3 separate regions of the Homo sapiens genome follow, and regions 1 and 2 are each linked to region 3. The links are contacts of gene promoters, found by promoter capture Hi-C in blood cells and fetal thymus (Javierre and others, 2016). All regions are on one chromosome and are shown on one strand. The core of a region is centred on a gene start or on the middle of the fragment in contact, and the rest is flanking DNA. Distances in the headings are between cores, read along the strand shown.

Evidence for each region. Contacts are between HindIII fragments. The CHiCAGO score rates a contact against its expected background, and 5 or more counts as called.
Region 1: a fragment that was not itself captured here is called in contact with the fragment with the promoter of LINC01589 in region 3 in 9 of 17 cell types (M2 macrophages, M1 macrophages, endothelial precursors and 6 more); the score reaches 13.7 in M2 macrophages.
Region 2: a fragment that was not itself captured here is called in contact with the fragment with the promoter of LINC01589 in region 3 in 3 of 17 cell types (endothelial precursors, erythroblasts and megakaryocytes); the score reaches 9.1 in endothelial precursors.

Annotation. Positions count from the first base shown.
Region 1 is chr22:45,986,465-45,990,485 of GRCh38, forward strand. No RefSeq gene overlaps it. Among named protein-coding and RNA genes, the nearest start is that of WNT7B, 11 kb to the left of the region's middle. RefSeq lists enhancers at 396-896, 897-1,397. The HindIII fragment of the contact is 8,373 bases long and covers 1-4,021 here.
Region 2 is chr22:45,866,961-45,870,828 of GRCh38, forward strand. LOC105373071 reads left to right here. Exons shown (of 6, transcript XR_007068133.1): 1 at 1-3,667. Among named protein-coding and RNA genes, the nearest start is that of WNT7B, 110 kb to the right of the region's middle. RefSeq lists an enhancer at 383-957. The HindIII fragment of the contact is 1,074 bases long and covers 1,913-2,986 here.
Region 3 is chr22:45,603,944-45,608,147 of GRCh38, forward strand. It overlaps LINC01589 (long intergenic non-protein coding RNA 1589), which reads right to left and starts at 1,704. Exons shown (of 2, transcript NR_131244.1): 1 at 1,458-1,704; 2 at 489-815. The HindIII fragment of the contact is 5,695 bases long and covers 1-4,204 here.

The DNA.
Region 1 (4,021 bases), core at 332-2,831, 380 kb after region 3:
ACACAGGAGGGCTTGGCCATGTGGCGATGGGGAGCAGAAGTTGAAATGATGGAGCCCTGTGAGCAATGGCTCCTGGAGGCCCAGCAGGTTATGGAGCAGAGGAAAGGGGGAGGCAAGGGCACACGCACAGACAGCCGGAGTGCCAGGCTAAGGAGCAGGACGTTACTTATGGTCACTGGGGAGCTACTGAAGATTTTGAGAGAGGGGGGCACCAGAGGTGGGCCCTGGATGGAGTGTCCCCAGCTTGCCTGACCAGCCAATTTTTAGCATTACCACAGGCCCACTTCTCCGAAATATCTCAGGGAAGGGGCTAGGAATCTGAATGTTTAATCAACACCCAGGTGGCTCCAGAGATCAAGCACAATTGGCAAATGATAGTTCTGGCAAACGTGTAAACTGCAGAAAGTTCCGTGGGAAGGTCCACACCCCAAGTCCTCTCAGTGTACACCCTGAGCCCCTAGGGGGTTCCCAGCCCTTGCCAAGGGAGGTGGAGGGCTCCTAGGGGAGAAGCAGTCCCTCCCAGGAGGGACAGAGTCCCCACTGGGGATGGGGAGCAGGGGCCACCTGGGGAGGAGGCTGCGGGCGTCAGATGATTTCCAGCAGGAGCCTGTGTGTGCCCACCAGGACCCCTCATCCAGAGAAGGGCAGACAGAGCTCTGGCATTTCTGGAGGGAGAATGAGGAGCCCCCAAAGGCAAATCCAGGAGCTTGACCCAATTCAGGGCAGAAGCTAAGGGATATCCAAGAGCCCAGGGAGCAGAAGGAGGGGGTGAGCACCAGTGACGGCAGTGGCTGCTCCAAGATGGCCTCCCACTGCCATCACACAGACTGCAGCAGGGAGGCATGGCCAGGGCCGCATACTCCATGGAGCAGGCCGGAGCCCCACCCTCCTAGGTGGGGCTGCAGCCGCCCAAATTGTGGCTGCAGATCTGAGCATCCCTGTGCTCTTGGGACAGGAGCAGGCAAGAGCCCTACCCTCCCAGGCACAGCTGCAGCCACCAAAACTGTAGCTGCAGACTCAGGAATTTCTGCACTCAGGGACCTGGGAAGGCCCCCACTGCCCTTGCAGGCTTGGAAGTGCCTGTTCCCACTGCCTGGCTTTTCCCTGCCGTCAGTGCCTGCTTTGATCTCAAAGCAAAGTCAGGGCCAAGCCCTGGTGCCATGAATGGCAGCAGGAGGCAGGCACATTCCTGGGAGGAAGGGGACGGGTCCCCCGTGAGGCTCCACCTTTAGGGCCAGGGAGGGCCTGAAGGCTGGAGGCTGGGCTTCCAGTCCCACCAACCTGAATGGGAATTTGTGGTGCCTTTTCTGGGCCTGCCCATGGCTACCCATGGACCAATCTGCATGCACTTTCTCCCCTCTGAGGCCCATAAAAACCCTGGGCTCAGCCAGAGCTGAGCAGATTACAAGTTGATCAGCTGCTGAGAGGAGCTACCCTCTCTGCTGAGAGCTTCAGAGACCTGAGGAGATGTCAGAATAACCTGCCTGCAGAGAGGCACTACCCTCTCTGGGGCTTCCTCTCTGCGGAGAGCTGAACACTCGATGGGACAACCTGCCTAGAAAGAGGAGCTACCCACTGCAGGTCTCCTCTGAGCTGTTCTAATACTCAATAAAGCTCCTCTTTGTCTTGCTTACCCTCTACTTGTCTGCATACCTCATTCTTCCTGGATGCAGGACAAAAACTCAGGCAAAGACGCCACTGGTCACAGAGGTTTCCAGCTAAAAAGACGACACCCAAAAGATCCTGTAACACCAGGAGCTAGCATGGGTTCACTGGGAATGAAATGTGTAGGCTCCCTGTGACTTCTGACCTCTGTGAGGGTCATGAACCCAGGAGGTGAGGCATTTGACAGGGAGGCTCGGGACTGCCTCATAGACAAACTCACATCACATCTTCTATGTTAAAACAAATGCTCTGTGTCTCTAACAAAAGTCCTCTCCAGGACCAGGAGAGCTGAGGTCAGGCTGCCCAGCACATCCAGCTGCACCTTGACCAAAACTCCAGGCTGCCTGAGCCTGGCAGTCAGCCGAGAGAGGAGGTGATGAGGGCCAGGTGTGCTGAGTGAGGCTGAGGCAGGGGCGAGCCCCCATCTCTGCAGATGAGGATCTGGAGTCCAGGTGAGGCCTGGTCTGCGCTTGTCCATGAACCCCTTCCTCGGTAGGAGAGCCAAGGACCTGAGTCTGGAGAGGGATGCTCCTGGCCCTCCCTGACCCCAACATACAATCACTCCTCGCCTGTGGCAACCGACCAGCACCGCCCTGATGGGGCAGCTCCAGGACCCTGGCTAAGCTGGGTTTGCTGGTGGGCAAAAGCAATGTGCCCTGGGCAGTCCTTTACCTCCTCCTTCCATGAGGGTCACTTTGACCTCCACCCTGCACTGATGACTGCTGGTGGAAGATCCAGGTTTGAGCTTTGAGGGAGGAGGAGGGAAGGCCCTTTCCAGTGCCTCCCACCACAGAATGAAGAGTCCTTTGATTTCCTGCTTGAGTCCCCCATGGGGAGAAGATGGATGCCCAAGGCTGAATCTGAGCCTTCCAGAGTTCCCTGCATAAAGCCCACCCTCTAAAAGTGCCACGACCCAGTGGGACTAACCTAGCACATGATGCCAGAGTGCCCAGCACCCAGGGCTGAGGCTGGGTTAGGCCACAAAGGCCACCGAAAGCCAGGCCACCATTTGGACCTCATCCTTCTAGGCAAGGGCCCGACACCGAGCACTCAGCTGCCTGTCTCCGCTGGGGCTTCTTGTGGCTGCACCATGGGCATTCAGGGCAGGATCGTTCCCTGTGGTGGGGACCGTCTGTGCCCGGTAGGATGTTCAGCAGCGTCTCTGGCCTCTGCCCACTAGACGCTTTTAGCACACAGCATCCCCTGAGGTATGACAACAAAACGTATCCCCAGACATTGCCAAATGTCTCCCGGGGAGCAGAATTGGCTCCAGTTGAGAACCACTGGTCTAAGATATGAGCGTTGGACTTTTTGGTGTGGAGGACCCAGATTCTATTCATCCTGTTTCGTGGACACCCCCAGGACAGGGACCGGGTGGCCAGGCTTAAGCTGAGCCACAGGCACATCTGAGCTCCTGCTTGCAGGAATCAGAACAGCCCAAATAAACAATTTCGTTTTAAGCAAACCTGCAGCCACGATCCTACCTGTCAGGGTGATCTCCTGAAAGTCATGGGGTGTCTGTTTTAGTCTTGGGCACCAAGAGTCACAGCCCCAGGGCTGACCACTGATGGCATCGACGCCTGGAAACTGGCCTGCTTCCCCCACACCACACAGGACCCATGAACGACCAAGAACCACTGATCTGGTCTGAACCTCTTGCTTTAAGGGTGGGAAGGCCGAGACCCAGGGAGGCTGCCAGGGTCACACAGTCATCAAGCAGGGGTTTGAGCCCCAGCATGCTAGCCCCAGGAGCCAGGAACTCTGGTGCTGACAGTGGGGTTCCCCAGGGCTGTTTCGCCATCTCCTACTGGGTGACTACAGCTGGCAGATCTGGCATCAGACCCACGGCCTGGGGTCCCTGGCTGGACCATACAATCTTCCTTCCCTGCAGGGGCCGCCTAGGGAGGTTGGCACACAGACCTGGACTCCTTAGCCCCTCTCCACAGGGGTCCCCATTTCAGCCTGAGAATGCACACAGGCCATCAGGAGGCAGTGGCCAGGGCGTGAGGGTGGGCTCCAACCCAGGCCCAGAAAATGCCTTCATAGCTGTAAGGCTATACAGCTGCGGAAGACTTCGGGCAACAGCTCAGACTGAGTCCAATTCGAACCCGGGCCTTCCGTGTACACGCCGTGGGATTCGGGCAAATCATTCCTCTCCAGGACACCTCAACCAAAGGTGTGAATGTCCACATCACCGGGAGGTTTAAGGAGGTAACACCATCTACCCAGCAGGGTGCTGGGGGGCCTCCTCGGGAGCTGTCACAGCTGATCCTGGGTCCACAGTGAACAGAAAGTGGGTGTTGGGGGCAGAGTCTGGAGACGGGGACAGTGGACCACCAGGCTCTGTGACCCCGAG
Region 2 (3,868 bases), core at 1,200-3,699, 260 kb after region 3:
GGAAGCCGGCGGCGCGGGGTCAGGAGCAACCTGCTATTCGTAGGGTCAGGAGCCCACGCGTCCCCACTGCGGAGGGCGGGGTCGCAGCCAGGCCTCCCCGTTTCTAGCTGTGCGGCCTGGGGCGAGGTGCTTGACCTCTCGGGGCCTCAGTTTCCTTCTCTATGAAGCGGAGCTGATCGGCCGCGTCCCGGGGCTGCTGTGACAGTCCAAGGCGAGAACAGCAGCTCCGCGCCGCCCCTGGTGCTGGAGAACCGCTGGGGCCTCGGGAGAGGGCGCGGCGCGGCGGAGCGGCCCTGGCAGCCGGAGGGCGCGTGTGGCCAGGGCCGATCCTGCACTGCCCTCTGCGGGATGGCCCGGCCCAGTCCTCGACCCCCAGCACCTCCGCCGCCCGGCCTGGCCACCACCTCCGCTCCACGCGCCCAGGCCGCTCCCGTCGCGGGTCTCGGAGATTCTCCCGCGCCCAGGGGTGTCCCGCAGCCCCGGGCCTCAGCACCCAGCGCTCCCTTCTCCACGACGACAATGAGGCGGACCCTCCCCAGCGCCCTCCAGAGCTGTCGCATCCCGGGAGGTCAGGGCGAGTGTTGTTTGCATTTCACAGAGCAGGAAGCTTAGGCACAGACAGCGGCTCCCCGACCCTCGCTCGGCCTCTGCTGAGCAGGGAACGGCCTGAACGCGTCCGGCCAAGCGCCGCCTCCGGCCTCTGCCCGCGGCCCGGCGCGCCCTCCTCCCCAGCGCGCCCCTATCCTGCACGCATCCGCGGCCCCGGGCCCTTTCCGCAGCCCCACGCGGTCTCCTCCCGGGTTAAATCTATCCACTCGCGCGTTCCTTGGCAGCCGTGATCACAGGCGTGACCACGGTCCCCAAGCCCTCGCGCCTCCGTCCACGCTATTGCGGCCGCCCCTGCGCGCCTGTCCCCTCCCTGTCCCCTCCTTCCAGCTCTGGAAACAGCAGCACCGGAAGCCCCCTGCCCCAGACTCACTGCCCACCCCCGGCCGAGCTGGCTGCCAGCCGAGCCCCTTGGATCTCTGCGCCCCCCCGGGCCCCCCACCACTCCACAGCCCTGCGTGTCTCTGCTCTTTCTCAAAGTAAAGCCCTTCAAGTGCCATCCACTTGCGTCTCCCATTGGGATCCCCCTTCTCCCACCCCACAGCCCCTCCTCTGAAGCCTTTCATGTCCCTCAGTCTGGCTGCGACTCCTCCTTCTCCTGCCCTCCTGCTGGGTTCCCTGCCTTCCCCACTGGCGGCTTCTCCCCTGTGCTCTCCACCGGGTTTCTCTCTTCTACATTCCCTGGAAACCCATCCAGTTCTTCAGACACAATAATTCTCCTATGACCCCCAAATATGTGCAGCCTGGACGGTGCCCTGAGCTCCAGACTCCTACATCCAACTCCAGGCCAAGCCGGATGCCTCGCCTGGCACCCGCCCCAGCCCAGACCTGTCCCCGCCCGCAACTTCCCAAACTCAGAAAATGACAACTCCTTTCCTCCCTTTTCTCCCCACGCAAACTTTACACTTGTCCCTGACTCCCCTCTTTCTCTCCAGTCTCACGTTTATTCCGTCAGAAAATCCCATGGCTCTCCCTTCCAGACATGGCCAGAACCCGGCCTCCCGGGCTAAGCCAAGGCAAGCTGCCTTTGCTCTTCCTGATGGTCACGGCTGCACCTTCCCTGGGCTCCCTGCCCCTGGTGTGGCCACCATAAGTCCCCACCCATCATCCTTTCTGAACCTAAGTCAAATCACATCATTCTTCTGCCAAAACCCTCCAAAGACTCTCAGCTTGCTCAGCGCACAGCCCGGTGCTCCTGGAGCCCACAGAAGGGGCACTGCCCTGGCTTCCCCTTCTGCCGCCGCGGCCGCTGAGGTGCTCCTCACTCAGACAAAGCTTCCTCCTGCTTCAGGCCCAAGGCACCAGAAGCTTCCTTCACCCGGACGCTCCTCCCTCAGACATCTGCCACCTCATTCCCACACCTCCTCCCAGTCTGCTAAAATGTCACCTTCTCCATGAAATTGCACCTGCAGCCTCCTTCCTGCAGTGGCCTGTCTCCCCTGCCCTGCCTCCCGGTTGTCTTGGACTTGCAGCCATCTGGCTGGCCCAGGGTCTATTAAATGCACTATCTGGCTCACAAGGGTAGTATGTGGGTCCCTTTGCTCACCACTGCATCCCTGTGCCTTGGGCAGCCCTGGCACATGCCAGGTGCCTGGCAAGCAGCTGCTGAGTGAATAGCACATGGACGGCCCCGTGCTCCGTTCTCAGAAGCAGGAGTTGCAACAAGGTGGTCCCAGGGGCGAGTCTTCGTCAGTCCCAGGGCACTCCAGCCTTCCACTCCCACTGCATTTCATCCAGGGCCGGAGCGGGTGGTCCTGACCTCAGCGCCCTGGATGGCCAGAGGGTCAGCATCAAAGCCGGATTAGCTCCCCAGCTTAGCCCTGGCTGCCACATTCTTGTGACAGTTGTAGAACTGGAGAGCATCGGCGGGCCCAGTCTCAGCCTTGGACTCGGAGCTCTGGGAGTCCCTGCTACCACACATGCTCACACTCACACGTGCACACTTGCGCGCGCACACACACACACACACACACTTGCTAGTGCTGCCACCGGTTATGGAGCCGGGGTCCTCAACTTTGCTAACAACTCCTTGCAGCCCAACAGGAGACTGAACCCTGGGCGGACCCTTCCTGTCAAGACCCTCTTGTGTAGCATCTCATTTGCAGGAAGGAGGACCTTGCCTGCCCAGAGGGCAACACGGCTTGCAGCCCCTGCTGCTGCCCACCCCAAGGGCAGGGCTGGCTCCACTGTGCCTGCTCAGCCATGGTGAGGGAGAGTTCCTCCTCCCAGACAAGCACCAGCCTCTCCCAAATAGAAAGGCTACAAGCGACCCTACTGGTCACCATGTAGACCAAACAAGGTAACCCTGGGAATGCTCAGAGCATAGTGGCTCTCAGGGACCAGGGTGGTAATGACCATGGCTGTAGTTAGCATAATTCCAAGCTTGGCTTGATGCAGCTTGAATCACAATCAACCCCTCAACTGGCTCTTATTTTGTTTTGCCCTCACCTGGGGAAATTTGTTCTCCCCCTTCTTCCTGGCGCGTGGCACCTTTGTCAGTCTCTTTCTCCAGTTCAAAGGGAAACTGCTCTCTGAACAGCAATCAGAACCACAAGCCAGGGGTTCCAGGCTCTCTCAGCCTTGGCATCGCAGAGATGGGGAACACCAGGCTTTTCGTCTGCATGAACAAAGCCGTGGGCATCCCACCAGGAGGTTGCGTCTGGCTTGCTTGCCTCTGTCCAGGGAACCTGGCCAGCCCTGGTACCTAGTAACCTGTGTCAAATCACATTTTATTCTCTTTCTGTAAGAATTATTGTCTGCAGTTTTCCCCATCACTACCACCACCAATCCATTATCCCTTCGGTGGAGTTGTAGTCAGGAGAGGGCTGACATTTGTCTGGCTTTGTGTGGCGGTCACGCGCCTTGCAAGTAGGAGGTGGCCAATCCTTGATTTAAAACGAGAGAGCACTTCTGCTTCTGGCCAAAATGGAGTAACAGGCTTCTTTACCACACCTGCAGCAACTGAAATAATCAGACAGAATACATGAGACAGTGGCTTCCAAGACCCCGACATCAGGCAAAATTAAATGCAGTGATCCCAGAGAGAAAGGAAACAAGCAAGGTGAGCCCCTCTAATTGCCCCACATTTCTGCCTTGAGAGAGGGAGATTTCTCCCCCGGCCATGGTGCAGGCAGGGGGAAGCCAGACAGATCCCAGAAGACTCCCAAGTTCCAGAGGTGGGGCTGGGAGTCCAGGAAGATCAAGGCAGCTGGAGTTCACTGGACAGAGTTTCAGAGAAAAGAGAGTTATGCAGGGAGGGAAG
Region 3 (4,204 bases), core at 454-2,953:
CCAGCCAACTAGAATTCGAGGAGGTAAGCCAGCTTTTCCAAAGTTCTCAAGTTTGTCCAGGTGAAAAAACACCTGGAAATCAAGGGTTTTTTTCCTAATATTGTAACATGAAAATTTTCAAATATACAGCCGAGTTGAAGGAATTTTACAGTGAATACCAGGGCACCTTCCACCTAGATTCTGCCACTGACATTTTATGAGATTCAGTTGCATTTTGAAGAAATGACAATATGATGAATTAATAAATACAAATAAGAAACTTACAGTTTCTTGTAGGCTTGCGCTCAAATCCAGCCACTTACTAGCTGTGTGTCCTTGGGCACATTGCTTAATGTCTCAGAGCCTTGGTTTTCTCTACAACGAAATGAAAATAAGGACACATACTTCACAGGAGTGATTGTTAGGATGAAAGGGGATGATTACGTAAAACAGTGCAAGAACTGCTACACAGGAGGTCCTCCATAAATAGTACTGTCATGACACACACACCCGAAAGGATAGTCTTTATTCAGTTAGATGCCACATTTTATTAAAGTCTTGTGTGGACAAGAAGTGAAACCTCAGAGGAATTTATGAAGAATAATTGGAGGCACTTCCTTGTGACTTGGCTTCATCCGGACCGGATGACTTCTGGGTGCCAGCAACAGTTCCCCATTTCCATTCACGTTTCCCCACATCGTTCATGCCAAAGAGATGGGTGCCAAGAGGCCATCCGTCTTCATCCTGGACATAGAATGAGACGGGAACTCACTCTTGAAGGACTTTTGAAGTCTCAGAGAAGAAACGGAGCCACCGTAGACCTTTTGAAATACGGCCTGTGAGAAGCACGGTGACAGTCACCATTACTACCAATAATCACATTACTCTTTGTGGGAAAAAAGACCTACTATGTGCCAGGAAGGCTTCGGTAATCATCTCCAACACACACACATTCTCTCACACACACATGTGCGCATGTGTGCACACACACACACACCACACACACACACACACACACTCCGCAGCCCTTCTGCCATGCCCAGCTCAGGGCCATCTTCTCCCACAAGGATGCCGGTCTCATCTCCTGAAATGAGGTTGCAGTGAGCCGAGATTGAGCCACTGCACTCCAGCCTGGGTGACAGAGCGAGACTCCATATAACCTCTGCCTCCTGGGTTCAAGAAACTCTTGTGCCTCAGCCTCCCAAGTAGCTGGGATTACAAGCGCGTACCACCACACCCAGCTAATATTTTTTGTATTTTTTAGTAGAGACAGGGTTTCGTCATGTTGGCCAGGCTGGTCTCGAACTCCCAACCTCAGGTGATCTGCCTGCCTCAGCCTCCCAAAGTGCTGGGATTACAGGCATGAGCCACCGCGCCCGGCCTGATCTCAGTCTTTAAGAGAGCAGCAGCTCATCTGTGGCCACTGCTTCCCAGGGACTTGCCAGAAGGGAGGTGCAGGGCACAGGGAAATAACCCACCTCTATCTGACGGCTTCAATGGTATCGAATGTCCTCAGTGGCAGCACGCAGCACAGAAGCTGAGGTGTGGCTGCATTCCATTTGGAGAATTCCACTGTGATTCATGGTGTCAGCTGCGGGTTCAAGGTGTCACAATTTAATTATTAAACATCATGAGGCATTAGGAGGCTTGGGCACGCACTGATAAGTGATCCATTTCTAACACAGCTGGTTTATTACTGTTTGTGGCAGCTCCTGCACGAATTGGTGTCCGTTAACTAAGCAATGGTATTATAATTACACATTTAAATTATGTATGGGAAGGGTGTCAGTGGTAGAAGTCAGACTGCAGTGATTACTTTCAGTCTTCAGACCTCCTGGATGTAGTCTCTCTGCAGATAGCTGTAACTCTGGCTTGTTTTCTGCTCATTTTCTGCAGACATGTAGAATCCACTGCTAGGGTCCACTGAGCTGTCTTCTGGGTGGTTTTTGGTGCTGCAGGAGATAAACACATGTGTCTTCCTGGTTGGACCCAGTTGATGCACTAACCTAATTCTGTCCTTTGCCTGCCCTGATCTCCATAGCCTGCTTCTTCCTGGAAATTTGCTGCTGCTGCTGCTTCTTTTTTTTTTTTTTTTTTTTGAGACAGGGTCTCGCTCTGTCGCCCAGGCTGGAGTGCAGTGGCGTGATCTCAGCTCACTGCAGTCTCTGCCTCCCGGGGGTTCAAACCATTCTCTCTGCCTCAGCCTCCTGTGTAGTGTGGATTACAGGCACCCCCCACCATGCCCAGCTAATTTTTGTATTTTTAGTAGAGATGGGTTTTCACCGTGTTGGCCAGGCTGGTCTCGAACTCCTGACCTCAGGTGATCCACCCGCCTCGGCCTCCCAAAGTGCTGGGTCTACAGGCGTGAGCCACCGCGCCCGGCCGGAAATGTGCTTCTTTAGAGGAAAGCACCGTTGATCCCACCTCCTTGATCTGGTTTCTAAGACCTCATACAAACTGGGCCCGTTAGTCTTTGCTCCCTGATACTATCTGATACCATCTGGTCTCACTCCTTCCTTCCCATCTTGTTCATTCATTGGTTCACTCATTCATTCACTCACTTCACGCCCTCCCTCTGGTGAATCAGTTCCCCTCTGTCCTCCCCACTCTGTCCAGTCCTCCCCTAGGCTGCCAGGTTACATTTCCAAAACTCCGATCTGATCAGGCCCTCTTGGTCTCAGATCCTCCAAGGGCTTCCTTCAAGGGCTCCTGCACCAACCTCGTGGTGTGGCTGTGTGACATAATAAGAAACATTCACTTCTATTTGGTCTCTTTCCGGGTTCCTGACACAAAGCTCCTAATCCCTTGTCTTTGGTTTAATGAGGTGACTCTCAGTGGCTCCTGGGTGGGGTTGGGGGCTGAGCACCAGAAAGACCCAGATTCGACGAGGAGCCTGGAGCTTTTGGCTCCACCCCCACCCTCCAGGAAAGGGAGAGGGGCTGGAGATTGAGCTAATAATCCATCACGCGTAAGTAATGAAGCCTCCGTAAAAATCCCTGAACTACAGGATCCAGAGAGCTTCTGGGCTGGTGGACACATCCGCATGCTGGGAGGGTGGCGCCCCCCAACTCCACGGGGACAGAAGCTCCTGTGCCCGGGCCCCACCAGAGCTCGCCCTGTGTGCCTCTTCGTCTTCCTGTTCATCTGTATCATCAATAATGTCCTTTACAAGGACATTATTGTCCTTGTGATAATGAATGAGGAAGGAATTATTCCATTCAGGAAGGAATGAGACCAGATGGTATCAGATAGTATCAGGGAGCAAAGACTAATGGGCCCAGTTTGTATAAGGTCTTAGAAACCTATACATGTAACCAAAGTGTTTCCCTGAGTTCTGTGAGCCATTTTAGCCAATTACCAAACCCGAGGAGGGCGTTCTGGGGACCCCTGATGTGTAGCCAAGTCAGACGGAAGTGTGGGTAACCTGAGCGCCCAATCTTTGCAACTGACATCTGAAGTAGGGACGGTCTTGCAGGACGGAGCCCATATCCTCTCGGGCCTGTGCTAACTCTGGGTGGCCAGCGTCAGAATTGAACTGAAGTGTAGGACGCCCAGATGGTGTCTGCAGAGAGCTGGCCGGGCGTGGTGGCTCACGCCTGTAATCCCAGCACTTTGGGAAACCGAGGCGGGCGGATCACCTGAGGTCAGGAGTTGGAGACCAACCTGGCCAACATGGTGAAACCCCATCTCTACTAAAAAAAATACAAAAATTAGCCAGGCGAGATGGTGGGTGCCTGTGATCCCAGCTACTCAGGAGGCTGAGGCAGGAGAATCGCTTGAACCTGAGAGGTGGAGTTTGCAGTGAGCCAAGATCGCGCCATTGCACTCCAGCCTGGGCAACAGAATGAGACTCTGTCTCAAAAAAAAAAAAAAAAAAAAAGCGGGACAGACAGGGGTGGGAAGTTGGGGAGGGGGCTCTGGGAGGGGGAAGATGTGGGTGCCCCATGTGGAGCTAAGAATGGAGGAGTGGCAGGGGGCACAAGGTCACAGAACCAGGCTGAGGAAGAAGAGGTTGCCTGGAGGGTGGGACCCAGAAGCTACTGAAATGTCGCAGCAGAAATGGCCATTGAACGCCCCTTCTAAGGTCCTCGGTGGGAAAGTCAAGTCCTAACATCCTACATGGGGAAATCTACGCAGTTAGCAGAGCCAAATATGACAGCGACATGAGCCAGCCACTTTGGGAAACAGTCAAGTCCTAACATCCTACATGGGGAAATCTACGCAG